3 separate regions of the Homo sapiens genome follow, and regions 2 and 3 are each linked to region 1. Evidence: promoter capture Hi-C in human tissues and cell types (Jung and others, 2019). All regions are on one chromosome and are shown on one strand. Each heading gives the region's core, a stretch centred on a gene start or on the middle of the fragment in contact. The rest is flanking DNA. Distances are from core to core; before and after follow the strand shown.

Region 1 (3,573 bases), core at 476-2,975:
CCCTTCCTTGTGGTCTGGAAGTCAGGCCATGGCTGGGGTAGTGAATGTGTCCCGGATGTTTGTCCTGCCCAGTCTGTCTGCCTTGCACTTCTGGGAGCCCCAAATTCATTCTTACAGGGAGGAAGGTGGCCATGGGACTCCAGGGGGGAAATGACTGGCCCAGGGTCACATGAGAGCCAAGAGTGGGTTCCCCCATGCTGGACCCCTTGTGTCTGACCCCAAGCCTGAGTCAGGAAAGCCTGGAAAAGTGAGTGGAGGAGGAGGAGCTCGGGGGGCCCTGTTCTCCATTCAGCCCCCACCCAAGAGCTGTGGGCTTCCAGGTGTGTGAGGCTGGGCGCCTGGCACCTGAGCTCCTGCGGTTTGGGTCATAGTCTGAGCCAGAGTGGGAGATTCAGGGTAGGGAGGTGGTGAGGGGCACCCAGGTTTGTCTTATAGGGCACTCTGTTCCCGGCTCTGTGTAATGAGGGGAGGACCCCAAGTCCTTTGGACAGCGCATCCATCTCCTGGCCATAAAGTGTGAGCGTGGAGCTGGGCTGATTTGGGGGTGTCCGGAAGAAGGAAATGAAAGGGACATTTAATGAGGTCCTAGTACGTGCCAAGCATTTTCACACACCTACATTTGATTCAATTTCCACTACAAGTGGACACTGTTATACCTATTTTACAGACACAGAAACTGAGGCTCAGAGAGGTGCCTGGAGACGGAAAAGGGTGGGGAGCGAATCTTTCTGGCGCGCCCTCTGTGCCTCAGTCACCGTGCCAGACGCCTGCCCGCGTTCCCTATCGAAATCCCCCCGCCTCGCCAGCGAGGAAGGCGCGATCGTCCCCGGAACACAGACGGGAGACCGGAGGCTCGGGGACCGCCGGACGACCGCGGCCGGGCGGCCCCTCACACCACCCGGGCGGCTCCCCCGACGGCGCGCGGCGCTCACCTCCAGGCGGTCGATGCGGTCCCGCAGGGCGCGCACGGCGTCCTCCAGCTCCAGAATGAGCGCAGGCGAGTCCCAGGGCCCGTCGGCCATGGTGTCGCGGCGGGGCCCGGCGCCCTGGAGGCCGCGCGGCAGGCCGCTCTCGCAGCGGCCCAGCTTGCCGGTGAGCTCACGGATGGTGTCCTGGTCGGCGCGGATGCGCGCCTCCTGCTGCAGCGCCGTCTGGCGCAGCTGCTCGGCCGTGCTCTGCAGCAGCAGCAGCTCTTCGCGCTCGCCCGGCGCAGCGCCCGCCGCGTCCCCCTGCTGGGCCCCCGACGGGCAGGCAGCAGCCAGCGGCGTGCACAGGAAGCGGCTGAACAGGGGCCCGGGCGGCAGCGGGTGCGCGCTGGCCGCGGGTGCCCCGGGCAGCGCGGGGGGCCCGGCTGAACCGCCCGCGCCGTGCAGCGCGCTCAGGCTCCGCTGCGGGCCCGGGGACGCGGCGGCGCCCGAGGCGACCGAAGCATTGTCGGCGCCGCCGGGCAGCGCCCGCGCCGGGCTGGCCGCCAGGGGCACGCTGGCGATGATGCAGATGACGGCACCGAGGAACGCCAGCATGCCCGCGGCCAGCAGCACGGCCAGGAACTTCAGCGTGAGGCGGGCGGCGGGGGCGCCCGAGGCCCCCGGCAGGCGCGGCGGCGGGGTCGGGGCGCGGAGCCCGGGCGCGCTGGGCCGAGCGGGGCAGGCGCGGGAGCCGGAGCCGGAGCCGGAGCCGGAGCCGGAGCTGGAGCTGTCGCCGCGGCCGCTGCTGCCGCCGCTCTGAGCCCGGGCGGCGGGAGGAGGAGAAGACGGCAGGCGGCGGGGAGGGGGAGCGGGCGCGGCGGCCCCGCCCCACTCGCTTCCCCGGGCCGGCCCTGGCCCCGGCCCAGCCCCGCACCCGTTCAGTGCCGGGCGCCCGGCTGGGGGCGCCGCCGGGGATGCGGCGAGGAGCGAGGGCAGCGCCTGGGACCTTATCTCGCCGCGGTCACAGCGCAGGGGCCGGCGACCCGAGGGCCGCGCGGCGGGGCTCCTGGGTGACCCCCATCCCAGCCCTCCCGTGCTCGGGCCCCCTCCCCAAGCCGGTTATGTTCACATCCACCCGGGAGGGAGCTTTCTTCCGGGTGGGGCTGTGCACTGGGCGCGCCACAAGCTCGGTCGCAATTGAGCCTTGCCGTGGACAGGCTCACAATAGAAATGAGGAAACTGAGACACCTGAGGTCAGGCCTCTGTCCAAGGTCACCGGGTGGCTGCGTTGGAGCCGCCTGCGAGCTTAGGCACGTTTCACCGGACCAGACTGTGGATGGGGCTGGAGTGGGAGCGGTTAGAGGTGGAGAAGAGGCCAGTGTTGGGGGTTGGGGGGAGGCTCGGATTTTGACCTAACTTCTGTTTATACTGTGGCCACCTGCCCGTCACCCCCACCTCCAACCTTCTGAAGGAGCAGAGTTCACTCCCCGCCACCCTCATTACAGAATCTTCCTGTGATCTCAGAGGATGATGGAAATTCTCTCCTCTGAATCCTTGGGGGCTTAGAGCCTCACAGGTCCAGAGAAACCCCCCACCCCCACTGCAGTCTGCCTTCGTTGGCAAGCGGTGCCACGTGCCTGGTGGGCATGTGGACCAGGCCCAGAAGGAACAGCAGGAATGGGAGTGGGCTGTGCTGTGGGGGTGGCAGAGGAGCGTTTTACTTTCTTCTGTCAAAAATGTCTATATATATTTTGTTGAAAATTAACTTTGCAATTAAAAACTTAAAAACAATCCTACTATCCTCCACACTTTATCCCCAGCTCCAATTTTCCATGAGGTCTTTCCTGACCAATACGGATTCCCAGGGCTGGAAGGGCCTTGGGAGGGCTGTGGTTATTCCCAGCTCTGTCTCCCTTCCAAGCCTGCATTTTTGACTTGAAGGGAAAGCGCAAACCAGGATCTCTGGACCACCACGGCTACCACTGTGGTTTCGAGTGTACTTCACATAGCGCTGGTGGTGGGGAGAGACCGGAATGTTTCCCAGGAAGCCACAACCCTGGGGGACGCTCTCCAGCCACGGGGATTTTGTCCAGTGTTCCCAGGCACACGTGCTCCACCTCCCTCTCTCCACACATGTTAGGATGATGTCCACCCTGTTCACCCATCTCTAGGAGCCAGGGATTTTCATCCATACCTGAGTTGTGAAAGAGGAGAGAAGCAAACACAAGCGCTGTATGCCAGGAACCTGAGTGCTGTGTGTGCGTGGATGTGTGCTGGTGCTCACTGAAGTCGTAACCTCAAAACCCAGGGCAGGCAGCTGGGCTTGGAGGAAGCATCTCATGGACAGAGAGATGGGCTGGGCTCTTGGAAGGCAAAGGCCAGCGGTAGGCCCTGCTAAAGTCCTGGGGATGCATGAGACATCGGGACTCCTGGTACATCTACACGTGTGCCGTGAAGACAGAAACACGGAGATAGCATCCCCAGGAGAAACTGTCATAGGAAGTCCAGGGAAGGACAGGAGATGCCAAGAGAGAGGGCTGCTGCCAAGAGCAGCAGAGCCACTGTGACTTGGGCACCAAATGGTGCCACCTTTACCTGAGCTGCCCCCTGAGACTTTGGGGACAGTTTGGATAAATGGGTCCAGAGGCTGGAGTCAAATTGTGTT
Region 2 (3,573 bases), core at 293-2,792, 750 kb before region 1:
TTGAGACAGAAAGTAGATTCCTGGTGGCCTGGGGCTGGGGGAGTGGGAGGATTGGGAATGACAGCTAAGGGGTACCGGTTTGTATTTTTTTTTTGAGACGGAATTTCGCTCTTGTCCAGGCCGGAGTGCAGTGGTGCAATCTTGGCTCACTGCAACCTCCACCTCCTGGGTTCAAGCAGTTCTCCTGTCTCAGCCTCCTGTGTAGCTGGGATTACAGGCATGTACAACCACGCTTGGCTAACTTTTGTATTTTTAGTAGAGACGGGTTTTCACCATGTTGGCCAGGGTGGCCTCGAACTCCTGTCCTCAGGTGATCCACCCGCCTCGGCCTCCCACAGTGCTGGGATTACAGGTGTGAGCCACCGCGCCTGGCCGAGGTACTGGGTTACTGTGGTGGAGGGTATTGAAAATATTTTAAGCTTGATAGTGGTGATGGATGCATGACTCTGTGAATATACTACAAACCAGAAAGTGTACACTGTAAATGGGTGAATCGTATGTGAATTATATCTCAATAAAACTGTTTTTCAAAAAAGGAAGTTGTTTCTCCCTGGCAGACCTTTTGTGGGATAGCAGGGGACGAGAAGGCTGAGCCTGGGGCCGGGTGAGGCGGTGACAGTGGGCAGATGAGAGCCTGAGCCGAAATCTGGGTCTTTGGATCCAGTCATGTATCCCTGGGCCCGTGGGTTCAGATCCAGAGACTCGGGGAGGGCGTGGGAGGCGTGGGAGGCGTGGGAGGGATAAGAACCCCAAGCCAGGACCGGGCGTGGTGGCTCATGCCTGTAATGCCAGCACTTTGGGAGGCCGAGGCAGGTGGATCACCTGAGGTCAGGAGTTCGAGACCACCCTGGCCAACATGGTGAAACCCTGTCTCTACTAAAAATACAAAAATTAGCTGGGCATGGTGGCGCACACCTGTAATCCCAGCACTTGGGAGGCTGAGGCAGGAGAATCACTTGAACCTGGGAGGTGGAGGTTGCAGGGAGCTGAGATTGCGCCACTGCACTCCAGCCTGGGCAACAGAGCAAGACTCCGTCTCAAAATAAATAAATACATACACACATAAATAAAATCAGTTTATCAAAATACAAGGGTCATGCTGCAGAGATGACTAGTGAGGTCTGAAACTAAGTCCTAAACTATCTTGGCAAAACCAGGAAGTGGAGGATGGGAAGGATGAAGACAGGAGTAAAAGCTTTCCAAAGGCCCCACCTCAGAATAGTTGGAGGGCAGGAAAATACTTCTTAAGGTATTATCTCATCTTTTTTTTTGAGACTTAGTCTCACTCTGTCGCCCAGACTGGAGTGCAGTGGCTTGATTTTGGCTCACTACAACTTCTGCCTCCCAGGTTCAAGCAATGCTCCTGCCTCAGCCTCCTGAGTAGCTGGGATTACAAGTGCCTGCCACCACGCCCAGCTAATTTTTGTATTTTTAGTAGAAACGGGGTTTCGCCATGTTGGCCAGGCTGGTCTCGAACTCCTGACCTCAAGCGATCCACCCACCTCGCGCTCCCAAAGTGTTGGGGTTACTGGTGTGAGCCACCGCGCCCAGCCTAATTTTTGTGGAAAGCTTTAAATCAAGGTCTCATCTTATGAATTGGCGGAGCGATGGACTGAACAGTGTGTGTCTGTAGTAGGGTGAAGTTGGCATTTTTGGAAAATAGGTGGATATATATGTGATTATGAAAGTCACAAAGTGAGGTCACCACAGGTAGAGAGAAAAAAATAGTGCAATTTCTAAATTAATAAAGGGAAAAGGGGAATGTATAGTATAATAACTCAACCAAACTGACAAGAAATAGTGTGGGAGAAAAAGAGGAAATGACAAAGTAAATACAGTTAGCTCAAGTTATCTAAAAGGAATAAAACCCAGGTATCTTCATTATTATGTTAAATGGGAATGGGCTGAATTCCTTTTCTATTAGAAGACACAGACTGTAAGACTGGTCAAAAACTCAAAAGTCAGTAACAGAAAGTATACTTAACATACAAAGAGATAAGCAAAGAGAAGAGAAAATAGAGCAGTATTAATATCAGACAAGGCGGAATTAAAAGCATCAAACTTAAGAGAGACATTAAGTACATAAATGGCAATATTTACAAAGAAGGTAGAATAGTTATAGCCAAAAAACGCCAAACAACATGGCAGCTCAATTCAGAAAGTGAAATCTATTAGAAATCCAATGAGAGATGAGAGAGTCTGACTAGTCTAGCAGACAGAACAATGCAAGAGCATAGAGGATTTAAATAATATGATAAAATGGCTGGGTATGGTAGCTCATGCCTGTAATCGCAGCACTTTGGGAGGCCGAAGCAGGCAGATCGCTTGAGGTCAGGAGTTTGAGATCAGCCTGGCCAACATGGCGAAACCCCGTCTCTACTAAAAATACAAAAATTAGCCGGGCGTGATAGCACATGCCTGTAGTCCCAGCTACTCGGGAGGCTGAGGCAGGAGAATCGCTTGAACCCGGGAGGGAGAGGTTGCAGTGAGCCGAGATTGTGCCGTTGCACTCCAGCCTGGGCAACAAGAGTGAAACTCTGTCTCAAAAAATAAATAAATAAATAATATGATAAAATTAATAGACGATAACTGAGCACACCTATCAATGAATTTGTGAATTGTGAGAATATACAAACAGGAATTAAAAAATGGTCCACACATGAATAAATAAATGCATGAATTCGTGAATGCATTAAAAACAAACAATATCACGAGTGAATAAATGAGTGAATATACAGTGATACAAGCAAACCCAGAAACAAAGGAAGAAATGGATGGAGATAGCAAAATAAAATGAATTTCTACAGACAGGCAGGCAGGGAGGGAAGAGGGAAGAAGGGAGGGAAACCTCTATGTACGGCCACTCAGGAGGGGGCAGCTCCTAGAAGCGCCCCGCTTGCTGCCCCCCAGTCCAACTCACCCGGCCGAAGAACTGCAGGAAGGTGTTGGAAAGTAGCAGGTGCTTCTCTGCTAGGAAGCGATAGCGCCGCTTCTCTTCCAATTCAGCCGCCCGCTGACTCTCAGACACGAAGGCCTGCATCTGTGCGTGCAGCCGGTTCACACTCTCCTGGGGGGGAACGGGAGTTCTGGCTGGGGGCGGTGGGTGTGTCTCATCCCACCCCCCTCGCCCACAGGCGCCAGCTGTTCAAGCCCCCTGTTCTTCCTGACTGCCCTCTCCCCAAGCCCACCCCCCATCACCCGGCCCATCCTAGCTCCTGAGCCTGCCCCATCATCAGCAGCCTTGTTATGAGTCTGGGCCCTGCGTCTCCCTCTCCCAGGTGCTTCTCACAAGCAGGGCTGCTGTCTGAGCCTTCGCTCTGTCCCTGGCACCCAGCACAAGCCCAAGCACGGGCTGGGGGGGCAGGGGGACGGGTTTAATGAGAATATGAATGAGTAGGTTAATAGCCCCTACTTGGGGGGAAGATTCTGAGGAGGGGAGGCGTGAGCTCACTTAAAGGAGCCAGAAGAGACGGGAAGGGAGGCAGAGGGTTAATCCATGGGTTTGGATCTTGGAGACAGAGGCCAGGGATGGGGCCCCAGGCTCAGGAAGGGGAATGGCCCTAGCCGGGGGCG
Region 3 (3,573 bases), core at 707-3,206, 560 kb after region 1:
AAGAGTTTGATTTTGCCTGTACTGTTACTTAATTATAAAAAAGAAAATCAGGCTAGGCATGGTGGCTCATGCCTGGAATCCCAGCCCTTTGGGAGGCTGAGGCAGGAGGATCACTTGAGGCCAGGAGTTCCAGATCAGCTCGGGCAACATAGTGAGATTCAGTCTTTAAAAAAATTAGTGAGGCATGGTGGTATGTGCCTGTAGTACTTAGGAGACTTAATGGGGTGATTGCCTGAGCCCAGAAGTTTGAGGTTGTAGTGAGGCTATGATCCCCTCACTGCACTCCAGGCTGGGTGACACAGCAAGACCTGTTTAAAAAAAAAAAAAGAAAGTAAGCTTAAAATCAATTTTTTAAACTTCGACATGTCCTGAGCAATTATATCTGAGATCATAGGTGCTGCTATCTGTGTAATTTATCTAAAGGATGTTAAAATAAATACATAGCCACTAAAATAAAAAGGTCCATGGGGGTACCACCTATACCCATTGCATACACCCAGCTGCTGCCCTAGCACATTGGAAGTGCCAACAATGATTATTAGCCCCTTTAAGAATGAATGAGGAGCTCTTTAGGATGACGACATGGAGAACCTTCAATGAAAACTCCGGTGGGAGAAGTGGGGGCCAGGAGTGGAGCTGGTCTCAGAGAAGTGGGTCATCCGGAAGGTTGGAGGTGGTGGGGGCATTGGGGCCTTGGAAGCTTTTTGGAGAGAAAGGTCTGCTGCTCCCCTGCTCCGAGCCCTCTTCCTGGGGTTGTGAGTCTCCCTTTCTGAGCTTCCTTTTTGCTTCTAAGGAATGTGGGTGCTTTTACCACAAAAACACTTGGCCTTTTCATAGCATAATTTGGTATTCAAGCTGTGGCCTGAGCTTGGAACCATTCTTTGTCCATTTCTGCTGCCCAGGACTTTGAGATGAGTCTGTGTGGGTACTTTGTGAACTATTATGTGACATGGACACATATATACATGAGGAGTGAATGCTTACATCATGCACAGGGTGTTTGTAAAGGCCTTGTTGGGTTAAATACTGTTGGATCACTGTAGAAGCTTTTCATACCGAAACATTAATTTTGGAAACTCCTTCACAAAATCAAATCAAAATTAGGTCTTTTGAAACAGGCTTCTTAACGTATTCTTGTGAAATTTCTCATGAGCAGTTCATTTCTCAGACATGGAAGAGTTAAGTCCTGCGTTCGCTGTTGTGTGTGTTGCAGTGGCTCCGCGATGAGGCTGTGCTGAGTGAGAGACGCCCCCTTCTCAGCTTCTCGCAGACTCTTGCTCCCTGCGCTCCAGCGCCGCTCACGGCTGGTGCTGGCAGGCCTGGCATTTGGGGGCGTGGGAGAAAGTATGCATCAGTGTGTGCAGGGGTGGAGGGGTGGGTGGTTTGTGTGAATAGAAAGTACATGACCTTTCTGAAAATTGTTCAGAAATGTGGAGGAAGGAAGCGAGAGACTTGGCAGTCCTGTAGGCTTTAATGGAATCAGCAATGGACGCTCGGTATGGCTAATCCTCGATGGAGATGGAAAGGGACGGGAGAACACGATCCAAGCCTACTCAGCTGCAGCAGCGTGAGTCCGCTGGGGAACACGGAGAAGACCAGATACTCTCACTCCCACTTGGTAGAACCTCCTGAGGTTCTCCGGCCACTGTAGTGAACCAGTGTCTGGCGAGCGCCCGAATTACGTGAGAAACTGCCCATGTGTCATTGGATCTAAGACACCAATGTTTTAAGGACACGTCAGTGTTTTGTCTATTGCTCAGAAAGAGAACTCACAGCTAATTAACTTGTAACATACCAACTCCAGAGACGTTAACATGTGGAAAATGTAGGTCTTCAAATCAGTGAAATAAGGTAATCTAATTAACAATACCAGGCTATAGCACAATGGTTGCCACAGGGCCACTTTGGGAGGCCAAGGCGTGTGGATCACAAGGTCAGGAGTTCAAGACCAGCCTGGCCAAGATGGTGAAACCACGTCTCTACTAAAAATACAAAAAATTAGCCGGGCATGGTGGCACGCACCTGTAATCCCAGCTACTCCAGAGGCTGAGGCAGAGAATTGCTTAAACCTGGAGGGGCAGAGCTTGCAGTGAGCCAAGATCGCGCCACTGCACTCCAGCCTGGGCGACAGAGTGAGACTGTCACCAAAAAAAAAAAAAAAAAAAAAGGAATCATTTGAGTGAAAGATAGTTTCTTGAAGATGGTCAGTGGATGATTGAGGTTTGGGAATCATGGGCCTCTGGCCCTAGTTGGATTTGAGCAGTGCCTTTAGGGTAGATAGGACTTAAAAAGACAGAAAGGGACAGGCTTTGCCTTACCATGGGTACTTTTACATATGCTCTTTGGGTAATTTTTTTCTTACTCTTTCTTTATTTTTTTTTAATTTATTTTTTATTTTTGAGACGGAGTCTTGCTGTGTCGCCCAGGCTGGAGTGCAGTGGCGCCATCTCGGCTCACTGCAAGCTCTGCCTCCCGGGTTCACACCATTCTCCTGCCTCCGCCTCTGGAGTAGCTGGGACTACAGGCACCCACCACCACGCCCACCTAATTTTTTTGTATTTTTAGTAGAGACGGGGTTTCACCGTGTTAGCCAGGATGGTCTCAATCTCTTGACCTCATGATCTGCCCGCCTTGGCCTCCCAAAGTGCTGGGATTACAGGCGTGAGCCACTGCGCCCGGCCTCTGGTCACAGTTTTTTAGAGATTGTTTGGAACAGTGAGTAGAAGGCCTTGTCTGTACAAGATACACAGCTGAGTGAGATTGTTAATCTGTCAAAGGGCAAAATTCAAAACTTTCGACAGTCTGGAAGGCTGGGATGAATGCATTAAGATGTAATTCGACTGATATAAATTTAGATTTAAAACAACCTTCTATAGTAGTTTGGCTGGGGGAGACAGACATGGTAGAAACTCACAGGAAAAGGACTTTGTTATTTTACATTACATAGAGGCTAGATGCTCATCTTCTCTTGGGTATATGAAAGCTGTTGATTTGCATACTTTGATTTTCTATCCTGCCGCCTAACTGATTTCTTTTTCTGTTTGCATTAGTTTTTCATTGATTCTTTAGGGTTGCCAGGCGTACTGTCCTATCAACTGCAAATAGAAATGACTTCTTTCCCGGTTTTTATGCTCTCATTCTTTACTCTGTCTAACTGCCTGGGCTAACACCTCCAGTTCTGTGTGAAGTAATAGAGTGGGCAGCCTTGCTATGGCCCTGATCATTTGTTGTTGTTTTGTTTTTTTTTTTTGAGAGGGAGCCTCACTCTGTCTCCCAGGCTGGAGTGCAGTGGCGTGATCTCGGCTCACTGCACGCTCTGCCTCCCGGGTTCCAGCGATTCTCCTTCCTCAGCTTCCCGATAGTAGATGGGACTACAGGCGTCTGCCACCACGCCCGGCTAATTTTTTGTATTTTTAGTAGAGACGGGGTTTTGCTGTGTTAGCCAGGATGGTCTCGATCTCCTGACCTCGTGATTCGCCGGTCTCGGCCTCCTAAAGTGCTCAGATTGCAGGTGTGAGCCACCGTGCCCAGCCTAATTTTTTGTATTTTTAGTAGAGACGGGTTTTCACCATG

What was found. Contacts are between HindIII fragments. The study calls those that stand out against the background at their distance.
Region 2: a fragment that was not itself captured here is called in contact with the fragment with the promoter of NPTXR in region 1 in 1 of the 25 tissues and cell types used here (spleen).
Region 3: a fragment that was not itself captured here is called in contact with the fragment with the promoter of NPTXR in region 1 in 3 of the 25 tissues and cell types used here (dorsolateral prefrontal cortex, hippocampus and psoas muscle).

What each region holds. Positions count from the first base shown.
Region 1 is chr22:38,842,303-38,845,875 of GRCh38, forward strand. It overlaps NPTXR (neuronal pentraxin receptor), which reads right to left and starts at 1,726. Exons shown (of 5, transcript NM_014293.4): 1 at 933-1,726. The coding sequence starts at 1,556. RefSeq lists a silencer at 1,245-1,314. The HindIII fragment of the contact is 15,093 bases long and covers 1-3,573 here.
Region 2 is chr22:38,094,112-38,097,684 of GRCh38, forward strand. It overlaps BAIAP2L2 (BAR/IMD domain containing adaptor protein 2 like 2), which reads right to left. Exons shown (of 14, transcript NM_025045.6): 7 at 2,921-3,067. Among named protein-coding and RNA genes, the nearest start is that of SLC16A8, 12 kb to the left of the region's middle. The HindIII fragment of the contact is 3,515 bases long and covers 1-3,300 here.
Region 3 is chr22:39,404,252-39,407,824 of GRCh38, forward strand. All of the region lies in intron 1 of TAB1 (TGF-beta activated kinase 1 (MAP3K7) binding protein 1), which reads left to right. Among named protein-coding and RNA genes, the nearest start is that of TAB1, 6.3 kb to the left of the region's middle. The HindIII fragment of the contact is 6,290 bases long and covers 1-3,573 here.